Regions from separate parts of the Homo sapiens genome. Here all the other regions are linked to region 1. Evidence: promoter capture Hi-C in 16 types of primary human blood cells and fetal thymus (Javierre and others, 2016). All regions are on one chromosome and are shown on one strand. The core of a region is centred on a gene start or on the middle of the fragment in contact, and the rest is flanking DNA. Distances in the headings are between cores, read along the strand shown.

Region 1 (3,082 bases), core at 370-2,869:
TGTATACTTGACCTCGCAAGTTTTTTTTTTGTTTGTTTGTTTGTTTGTTTTTTGTTTTGAGACAGAGTCTCGCTATGTTGCCCAGGCTGGAGTGCAGTGGCACAATCTCAGCTCACTGCAACCTCTGCCTCCCAAGTTCAAGCGATTCTCCTGCCTCAGCCCCCCGAGTAGCTGGGATTACAGGCACATGCCACCATGCCCAGCTAATTTTTGTATTTTTAGTAGAGATGGGGTTTCACCATGTTGGCCAGGCTGATCTCGAACTCCTGACCTCAGGTGATCCACCTGCCTTGGCCTCCCAAAGTGCTGGGATTGGAGGCCTGAGCCACTGTACCCAGCCAGCGGATGTTTTAAAAGGTTAAATGAAAGGGGTTAGCATGGTACTGGCACATAGAAACTGCTCAGCTGTTATTCTTGCTTGTATTATGCCTAAACCCAGCTCCCAGTCAACACAAGTGCTACTCTGGCCATAAGGCCCAAGTTTTTTATATACCCCCCCAATTTTTATTCAAAACAAGTGAGTCTATAAATCTATGAAGAGACAGAAAAACTTGTTTCTTATGACCCTCTGAGAAAGTGAATATTGACTACATCAGAGGAACAAATATTACATTTATAAGCACATTGACTTATTATGGGGATAAGGCATTGTTATTTCATTGTCTAGAATGAGTAAACATAATTAATAATTGTAAGCATCCATTAAGCATGTTATGTAAGTTAAAAAAAAGTAAAGATAAGAAAGTCCTTGGCTTTGTATACAGTTTACTACAAGGGAGGTTTCTCTTAATTAAATATGAAAAATATGAAATAATTGCTGTTCTTCCATTAGTAAAGAACAGTTTAGCTATTATACACCCAAGTCATTATAATTAATGTGTAACTAAATGACTTGAGTTAGAGATTAAAGGATTGGTAGGGTTTATAATTCTGAGGAATATCCAGTGGTGAGACATTCAATGAGTAAAAATGTTGTGTTTCTTCAGATTTGTAATTCTTCAAAACCATGTTTATAAAATATCTCTCACATTTATGAGAACTCTAAAAATTAACCAACTAGAAATTTTGTTAGTTGATACTGCTGTTTTAAAGCTATAACTTAAACCTTGAAACAAATTTAATTGATCAATTTAATTGTAGGTAGTGATTACTGTCTATAAATTTGAAGCTGGGAAAAATGTTATTAAATGAAATGACCAAGCTAAAATGAAATTCTATCTAGAAGTTAGGTGAAGTATTTTCAAAAAGGATAAATGGGCTTAAATATATGGATCATGACTGGACAGAGGTGTCTGTGGGCCTAGTCTTCCAAAAAGAGACAATTATTACTAGTAATTTAAAAAAGCAAAAGTAGAAGCATACATTGTGTTAGTCTATATACCCTAGGATCACAAAAGGAAGATAATTGTAGGAAAATTCATGGTAAAGTACAAACCCAATCACATCACAAAATGCTTTGCCAATTTCCAAATTTGTAATGGTATTTCTCACCCAGTTCTTTCATGTAATCCTCAAAGTTTTCACTGGAGACCAGCTTCCAGGTTCCCAAGAAGGGCTCAACCATCATGGAACACTTGCTGAGAAGAGCCACTCGTAATTGAAAACCAAAGAAATATAGGCATTACGGTGCTGCCAGTAGTTTAATTTAAAGAGCGTCTTCATCACGTGACTCTTCTGAAATGGCCAATGGGCAACAGCAGCAAGACTAAAGATTCTAGGCACCAGCATTTGACTCATTTTATTTACCTCCAAATTAAGAGACAGAAAATTAGCATGTAAAATTAAATTCTGGTCAATGATTTTAGCTTCTAGCAAAAAGATTTACACCCAAGTCACCTGACAAATATTACTTGTGGAACGGAGACAATCTTCAATAGACATCAGCTTTTTGAACAATGAATACTGAGTCAACCCTGGAGGAATATCCTGACAAATTGATAAACACCTGGCTGAGATGTTTTCCTACCTAAGACAAGAAATCCTTGCTTGGTCCACCTCAGCTGTTTTTTGTTTGGGTAAGTCACAGTGCTCAAACATCCTCTTCATTAAAATAATATCTTCCCTTCCCTTCCTTACAGGGTTGATGGGTTGATATTAGTTAATGTAACTAAAATGCCTATAATTGCTTGGAGGGAAATGGAGGGTATTATTAATATATTATCATTGTTGTTAATCGAAGGTAATTGAGGACAGGAAAGAAAGGTGACAATTATCATTGGATAATAGTATATGATTTAAGCTCTGAAAAGGAAGCAGAGCGAATGCCTACAAAATTCGTCTTTCAGGCTTACAAAGTAAACTCTACATTAAAAGATATTTTAAATTATAAGAAAAAATTTTGGCAAGTTTCATATAGAAAAAGATGTTTGGAATCTGCATTCTAAAAGAAAGACAAAGGCAGCAAATGGTTTCAATCTCTGTGCCATTACTTCTGAAACCATCTTCTGCAACCCCAATAATGGAAGTGGACTTTGCAGGTACTGAGTTTAGTAAGAAGGAGTAGATTCAGTAGCTGTTGATTTACATTACGGTTTTGAACTCCAGTTAACTTTAGAAGATGTTGGAAAGTTAGTGTCAGGGACCAGAAGAAGAATATTTATATTTTTACCTGCTTTGTATGAAGTATTTATTTAATTCAGAAAATATTGTTTGTGAACAAAATAAACAGGAGGTTGATATTTTGGTACTGTAAAACAATAACTTAAGTGGAATAAAGGATGGCTTTTGATGAAAACATATAAAGAAGAAACATATAATGTGATATCTTTATGGGTGGGACAATTATTAAATTATCTACAGTGCAAAACAGGGTAAGTGAAAATCCTGGAGTTAATTTCAGGAAACTAAGACCCAAGCTCAAAATAAGTGCCTCAGCAGTTGAAAGTGCATTCAGAGGTGATGTTCAAATATAGAGCAAGTTGTTAAACGTTTGCTTAACTGGTTCGAGATGTGTATGCACTCTCTGCTTTAAAGAAAGCAAGCATACATTGCTATGCCTGTTGGCCAGCTGGGTAGTGTAGCAAAGGTCTCCCATCAGCATAATCTTCCTTGTTGTTTTGATTCTCCTGTCATAGAATGATAT
Region 2 (3,082 bases), core at 155-2,654, 190 kb before region 1:
AACATATATCCCATGTTCACTTTGGGGCGGGATTTTAGCATTAAAATGGGGTGGACTTTGCTCTTTACATCAAAAGGTGAACTATAGGACACAAAGACAGTTTGTGCATCTCTATTAAACTGGCTGAAACTGGCTTGAGGCCTGCAGTCGCTTATCAGGAAAGAATGTAAGGTGTGTCCTCTGTTCAATTAAAGTTGTGGTGGTCTGGGATGTAAATCAGAGTTAAGAAGGTTCTGATAATTTGCCTGATTCCTCTTGTTGTTAAGGAGTTTAGCAAAGGTGTGGTTTTCCTTAAAGCTGTAGGAATTTAGGACAATACCATGCTAGCTGAGCCCTGAACCCTCAACCTGTAGGGAACTTGTTTCAACTTTAAGGTCTGGTTTAATTGATAAAGGGGCATCTACTTTGGCCTCCCAGGTCATATATACAAAGCTTTCTCTAAATACTGTACCTTTGGTCTGCATTCACTTTCCGAACCTCAATAGAACATGTCCAGAAGACCTTTATTAAGAGGTAAGTTTTCATGCATAGATGTCCTCCATGAACAACTGATATGTATGTTCTTCGAGGCCATTACTAGTTATGTACTATATTTCTTCATTCCCGCAGAACATTGTCTTGGTGATAGAATCAAATACTTTGGAGGCTGAAGATTATCATCAGCATTTTCCTAGAGTATTCTTCAGAGCATTCTAAGTGCTGCTAAAAGGATGGCAGCAAACAAGGCAGGTTTTGCAATCAATCCATTTGTAGAGATGTTGCTCTTAAAATGTTAAATGTATTTTTTAAGTTCAAGATTTCCTGGCATTGTTAGTATGCTCATACAAGCTGGAAATATCCAATGGGAATCATGGTATGCCCAATTTCCCTAATTTGTTTGATAATGGAGTCTGTATTCAAAAAACTCCTCACAGGAAATTTTAATTTCTTCTGTTCTTCTAAGGTTACAGATGAGAAAACAAAAATTTAAATTTAAACAGGTATTTTGTAGCAAAGTCTAGAACAAGGGTTTCCTATATCCTAGGTCACTGCTTTTACTTTTTATGTATTTAGAGCAGATATTTAATAAAATTATTGTTTTACAAATGATACTAATATTTATTTGCCTGACTATTTTAACGTTATGGCCTAGAATTATAATAGAGACAAAAGTTGCTATGTCCAATTTGATTCTTAAAAAATCTTTTAAGATTGTTTTCAATTCAAGTGAAGACAAAGGGGAATTGAGGACACAAAGATAATAGTTTTTTAAAAAATACTTTAAAAAAAGATATATACTTTTTAAGATTTTCTAAGAGACCAAAAAGGCTCTGCTACAGTTTAAATAGTGAGCAAATTATGCATGTTTGTGTAAGTATATGACATATTATTATGACATATGGTTTTCTTGAGGAACAAGGGGGGAGGCCAAGCAATGGCACAATTACTTGCAGTGTTACATTTCTCATGTCTATTTATAATCCATACTCTAGTATTGTTTGAACTATGAATTAATAACTATTATTTTCATAGGCCAAATACGAATTGAAAGAAATAATTTAATTTTTAGGTTAATCCCCTTATTTTTTCATTTTCATTTTTCTTCCCATAAAGTATTTTAAAGAATACTTAAATGATTATGGAATATATTTGGTGTTCTTGATAAACCTATAATTTGCAATTCTATTTTTGCTTACTCAGAAAATCTTTTGTCAAAGGAATCTTGATTGAGTTTTAGCTGAATTAGAAGACATCTAAAATTCCTTTAAACTCTAGGATTTTGATTCTCCTTTAGTCCTAAATCCAAGCCACTAATCTATTTTCAGAAATGAAACTATACAACTTTGAAGAATTTACCAATATGTCTGCTCAAGTGACAACTCATTGTTCTGAGATCACGTCTGACCAAGAATTACTGCCAAATACGCAATTAAAAACTGTATGTCTTGGGTGTGGGCAGCAAAGATCAAGTTCTACTTGTTCATGTGGATTAGTGACTTGGACTAGTTAGGTTCCCTCAGAGTACTGAGGCCCTAAGGCTTTGGGTGTGAAAGAACTAGAGCCTTGCCTTGGAAAACCAGAAGCAGCTGACACCTGCTTAGTAAAGCACGAAGCAAAAGGAAACCCAATACTTTTTTGTGTGTGCAGGATTTACCATCACTATTCACGTTGATTGGAAAATGACAAATAAATGTTTTGTTGAACTCTTATGTGATTTTTATTTTGTTTCTAGTTATGATTTGTATCACCACATGCTTTCAAATGGAATATTAGGCAGTTTTGATTTTCTGTTTCATATTGGGGTCAAACTTTTGTTTCTGTGACTATATCTCAGAGATGATTATGTCAACAAAATGCAAAAATGCAATAAAATGGAAAGGTATTTAATTTGAGAAAAAAGCTTTTTTTCCCATATAGTACATAACATAGAGTAACTTTCATATGCTAAATACATTCAAAGGGACACCAGTAAATGGCATTCTTTCCTGTTTATAGAAGCTGGTCCTATTCTGTCTTGACACTTATATGATGTCCTGATAACATAGCTGCAGAAGTGATAATATTTTACAACATGCAACAAATAAAACTTGTCATATAGAACCATAGTCTTCTCCCCAGGAACCACGTACAGTTTCTACTGAAAGACAAGGGCATCAGAGTATGTGTGGCAAGAAATCATTCAGCTTTGCTTCTGAGACTCTTCTCTCAATTCTCAGAAAAGGAACTCAGCAGGATTTTCTGACCCTTACTGAACTAGCCGGGTGGTGACAATTCCAGTTTTGACTTGTATTCTGGAAATTTTTATTATGCAAGTTGTATATCTCAGTATGCATCACCACCTCAGGCATAGCCTGGTGTCCGTTTACTACCCGGTTTATAGCGATGAACTAACTCTAAAGCACAGGCAGAGCTGAGTAGTGACATGAGTTGCTTCATGATTTCTAACCCAGTATTTCTCAGACAAGATCTTTCTAGCTGAGCAAAGTTTACCTCAGTTAACTTTTTGACATTTGGCACATTAATTTTAAACAAGATATATTTATTTGGTACACTCACCTGGTTTCTGTTAAAGACTCGCTTAATATTATAAAGATAAAACAAT
Region 3 (3,082 bases), core at 393-2,892, 170 kb before region 1:
GAGAGCTAAAAAAGTTGAACTCTTAGAAACATAGAGTTAGAATAGTGGTTATTAGAGGCCGGGTAGGGTCGTGGGAAGCAGGATTAGGGAAAGGTTAGTTAATGGATACAAAATTAGAGCTAGATAGGAGGATAGTTCCAGTGTTCTATGGCACTGTAGAGTGACTATAATTAATAATTTATTATATATTTTCAAATAGCTAGAAGGGAAGATTTTGAATTTCCATATGCTAATTACCCTGATTTCATAATTCACATTATATACACATATCAAAATAGTAGACTGTACCTCATAAATATGTATAATTAAGTGTCAATTAAAAATAATAGTAAAAGCCAAAATATGAGGCAGATACAAATATTATTTCCATTTTACAAATCAAAAAACAGAAGCTGAACAGCAATTTGAAGAGGCCTCTGGAGCTTCACATGGAGGGAGTCAGGCATGCTTGGGAGTTACCCTCCAATTCCAACCTGATGCCCAGGGTGGCAAACAACCAGTGACTGTCAAGTGTAGGAGTGTGAAAGCTCAGGTCCCTTGCATCAGATGAGGACATCTGATATATAACTGAGATATAACTGACCCTCCAGAGTTGCTCCCTGGATCAGGCTAAAGCCCGCCCTCTGTAGAACATGGTCTGAGATCATATCCTGCCTCAGTTTCCTCCTCTTCCCACTCCTACTTCCCCTCTCTCACGCCTTTACAGATCTTTCCCTAACACTTCCCTTAACAAATCACTTGCATGCAAATTCTTGCTCTGGCTTTGCTTCTGGGGAACTCACTCAGAACAGCCCTGCTGAGCCCTGGAAATTCCTGACCCTCCAAAACCTTGGGACATAATAAAATGATTGTTGTTTAAGCCTCGTTTTGGGGTGATTTGTTCTGTAGCAATAGGTAGACAGAACTCCCTGCAACACCACCATAAGTGTATGCAGCAGGGATCCCTCCAGTCCTTACTCAAAGGACTCCAGGGCTCAATTCATCCTGACCAGATTGACATATTCCACAAAGGAGCTTTCCCTTCTTCTGCAGGTCCCCAGCCAACACTGCTGTCTGGGGGCCCACAGAGTGTTTCATCTGTTGATATAACATCACCTTGAGACCCATTCTATGGTGAATGAAGTGTGGCAAAGAGTCCATGATGAGGAAAGTTGCTGTTCCTACCACAAACCACCACTTTCAGACGATTCTAGCCTGATGGAGCATGGAACGGTCTGTTGAAGGCAAACCCAAGACTGGGGTACTGTCCTTCAGGATGTGGTAAGCAGCATGAAGCAGCAGCTATTACATATGGTGCTGCTTTGTTTTTAAAAATTGCAGATTTGCTTGTGAAAGGCTTAATTAATAGTCATGGTGGCTGGGAGCGGTGGCTCACACCTGTAATCCCAGCACTTGGGGAGAAAGCCAAGGTGGGTGGATCACTTGAGGTCAGGAGCTCAAGACCAGCCTGGCCAACATGGTGAAACCCCAACTTTACTAAAAAAAAAACAACAACAAAAAACAAAAACTTATCCAGGCATGGTGGCGGACGCCTGTAGTTCCAGCTACTTGGGAGGCTGAGGCAGGAGAATTGCTTGAACCTGGGAGGCGGAGGTTGCAGTGAGCGGAGATCATGCCACTGCATGCTAGCCTGGGCAATAGAGTGAGACTCCGTCTCAAAATAAATAAATAAATAAATAAATAAAAATAAAATTTGTGTGGATTGTTTTCAGTCTTTTGCTCTTATAGATAACCAAAGTTCAGGCTACTTTTCATTCAATTTATAGAGACTCTAGAGTCTAAGTACAAATGGGAATCCAATGGGAGCGATCTACAGGCTCAGGAACCAGAGGCAGGAATAGGAGTGACCTTGCTCACCATGACTCCCAGTGACCTGCTTGTCCCTTTGAATACGTTTTTATGGTTTATCCCCCTGGCTTTGGTGTACTTTCAGCAGCCAGCAGCTAAGGCTCTTTGTGGGAAATCTGTCCTTGGACTACTAGAGCCCTTTTTCCCACACATGCAGAAGGCTGAAAGTGACTGAGAGTTTGTGTTCTTCTTTCTCTGCCAGGGCTGCCTGGTGCAGTGTGGGAATATGAAACCCAGCTCCCTTGCTGAAGATGGGACAACACCAAGGCTGAACTCACACTTGAATTCACCCACAGGATGGGGCTGAGCCTGAGATCTCATCCTTCATGGCTTCCTCTCCTTCCTTCTGTTTCAGAGGAATCTGACCTAACTCACTTGTTTAGAGTTACAAACAAAATAAATGGTGAGGTCAGGACCTAGGATTGCTGTATTGAGCAAATAAAAATACAGGACTCTTGCATTTTATCTAGCAATAAAAATAAAATAAAAAATACAGGATGTCCTGCATCTTATGTCTGGCAACCTTAGTCAGGATACTAATCCAAGTCTGTCTAATTCCAATACCCATGCTGGTTTTTAAAAAAAATTAATAAATCATTTTGAGTCTGTAAATAACTTCAGTGTCACATTACAAAATACAAAAATACAGTAGTAAAATTGTCAGCCTTCCTACTACCCCTGTCCCCAGCCACTCGTCTCCTTTTTAGAGGCAATCATGGTAACCTTTTTCTTATTTATCTTTCTAGCAATATTCTCTGTAAATCCAGGCATAATTATATATGCATCTCTGTACCTTGCTTTATTAATTTAACAACTCCTCTAAGGTAGGTCCTTATCAGACATATGGTGCTGTTTTGTTTTAGAAAATTGCAAATATACTTGGGAAAGGCTTAATTAATAGTCTTGTGGATTGTTTTCAGTCTTTTGCTCTTATAGATAACCAAAGTTCAGGCTATGTTGTTTTATTCAATTTAAAGAGACTCTAAAGTCTAAGTACAAATGGAGATCAAGAATTGAGCTGCTAAGTGCTGCTAACAGCATTGAGGAGAGATGTAGGTTACTTGATGATAAGGCAGCCGCAAGAGTTCAATGGATGCTATCTGATGTCTGAAATTATTCTGCCCCTCATGAGTACTTATACAGGAATTATTTGAGTAGATATGAATACATGTTTATACCTAATCCTTTAGTCTCTTCCTGTAGGAAACTAATAACCATTTACTGATAAAAATAT

Evidence for each region. The method cuts DNA at HindIII sites, captures the fragments that hold promoters and counts their contacts. A CHiCAGO score of 5 or more calls a contact.
Region 2: a fragment that was not itself captured here is called in contact with the fragment with the promoter of FABP9 in region 1 in 1 of 17 cell types (M2 macrophages); the score reaches 6.2 in M2 macrophages.
Region 3: a fragment that was not itself captured here is called in contact with the fragment with the promoter of FABP9 in region 1 in 3 of 17 cell types (M0 macrophages, M2 macrophages and M1 macrophages); the score reaches 6.4 in M0 macrophages.

What each region holds. Positions count from the first base shown.
Region 1 is chr8:81,459,960-81,463,041 of GRCh38, forward strand. It overlaps FABP9 (fatty acid binding protein 9), which reads right to left and starts at 1,620. Exons shown (of 4, transcript NM_001080526.2): 1 at 1,492-1,620. The coding sequence starts at 1,564. LOC101927118 (a long non-coding RNA gene) reads left to right here and starts at 1,499. Exons shown (of 9, transcript XR_001745980.2): 1 at 1,499-2,015. The HindIII fragment of the contact is 22,583 bases long and covers 1-3,082 here.
Region 2 is chr8:81,270,272-81,273,353 of GRCh38, forward strand. No RefSeq gene overlaps it. Among named protein-coding and RNA genes, the nearest start is that of FABP5, 8.7 kb to the right of the region's middle. The HindIII fragment of the contact is 1,948 bases long and covers 431-2,378 here.
Region 3 is chr8:81,293,595-81,296,676 of GRCh38, forward strand. No RefSeq gene overlaps it. Among named protein-coding and RNA genes, the nearest start is that of LNMICC, 14 kb to the left of the region's middle. The HindIII fragment of the contact is 9,479 bases long and covers 1-3,082 here.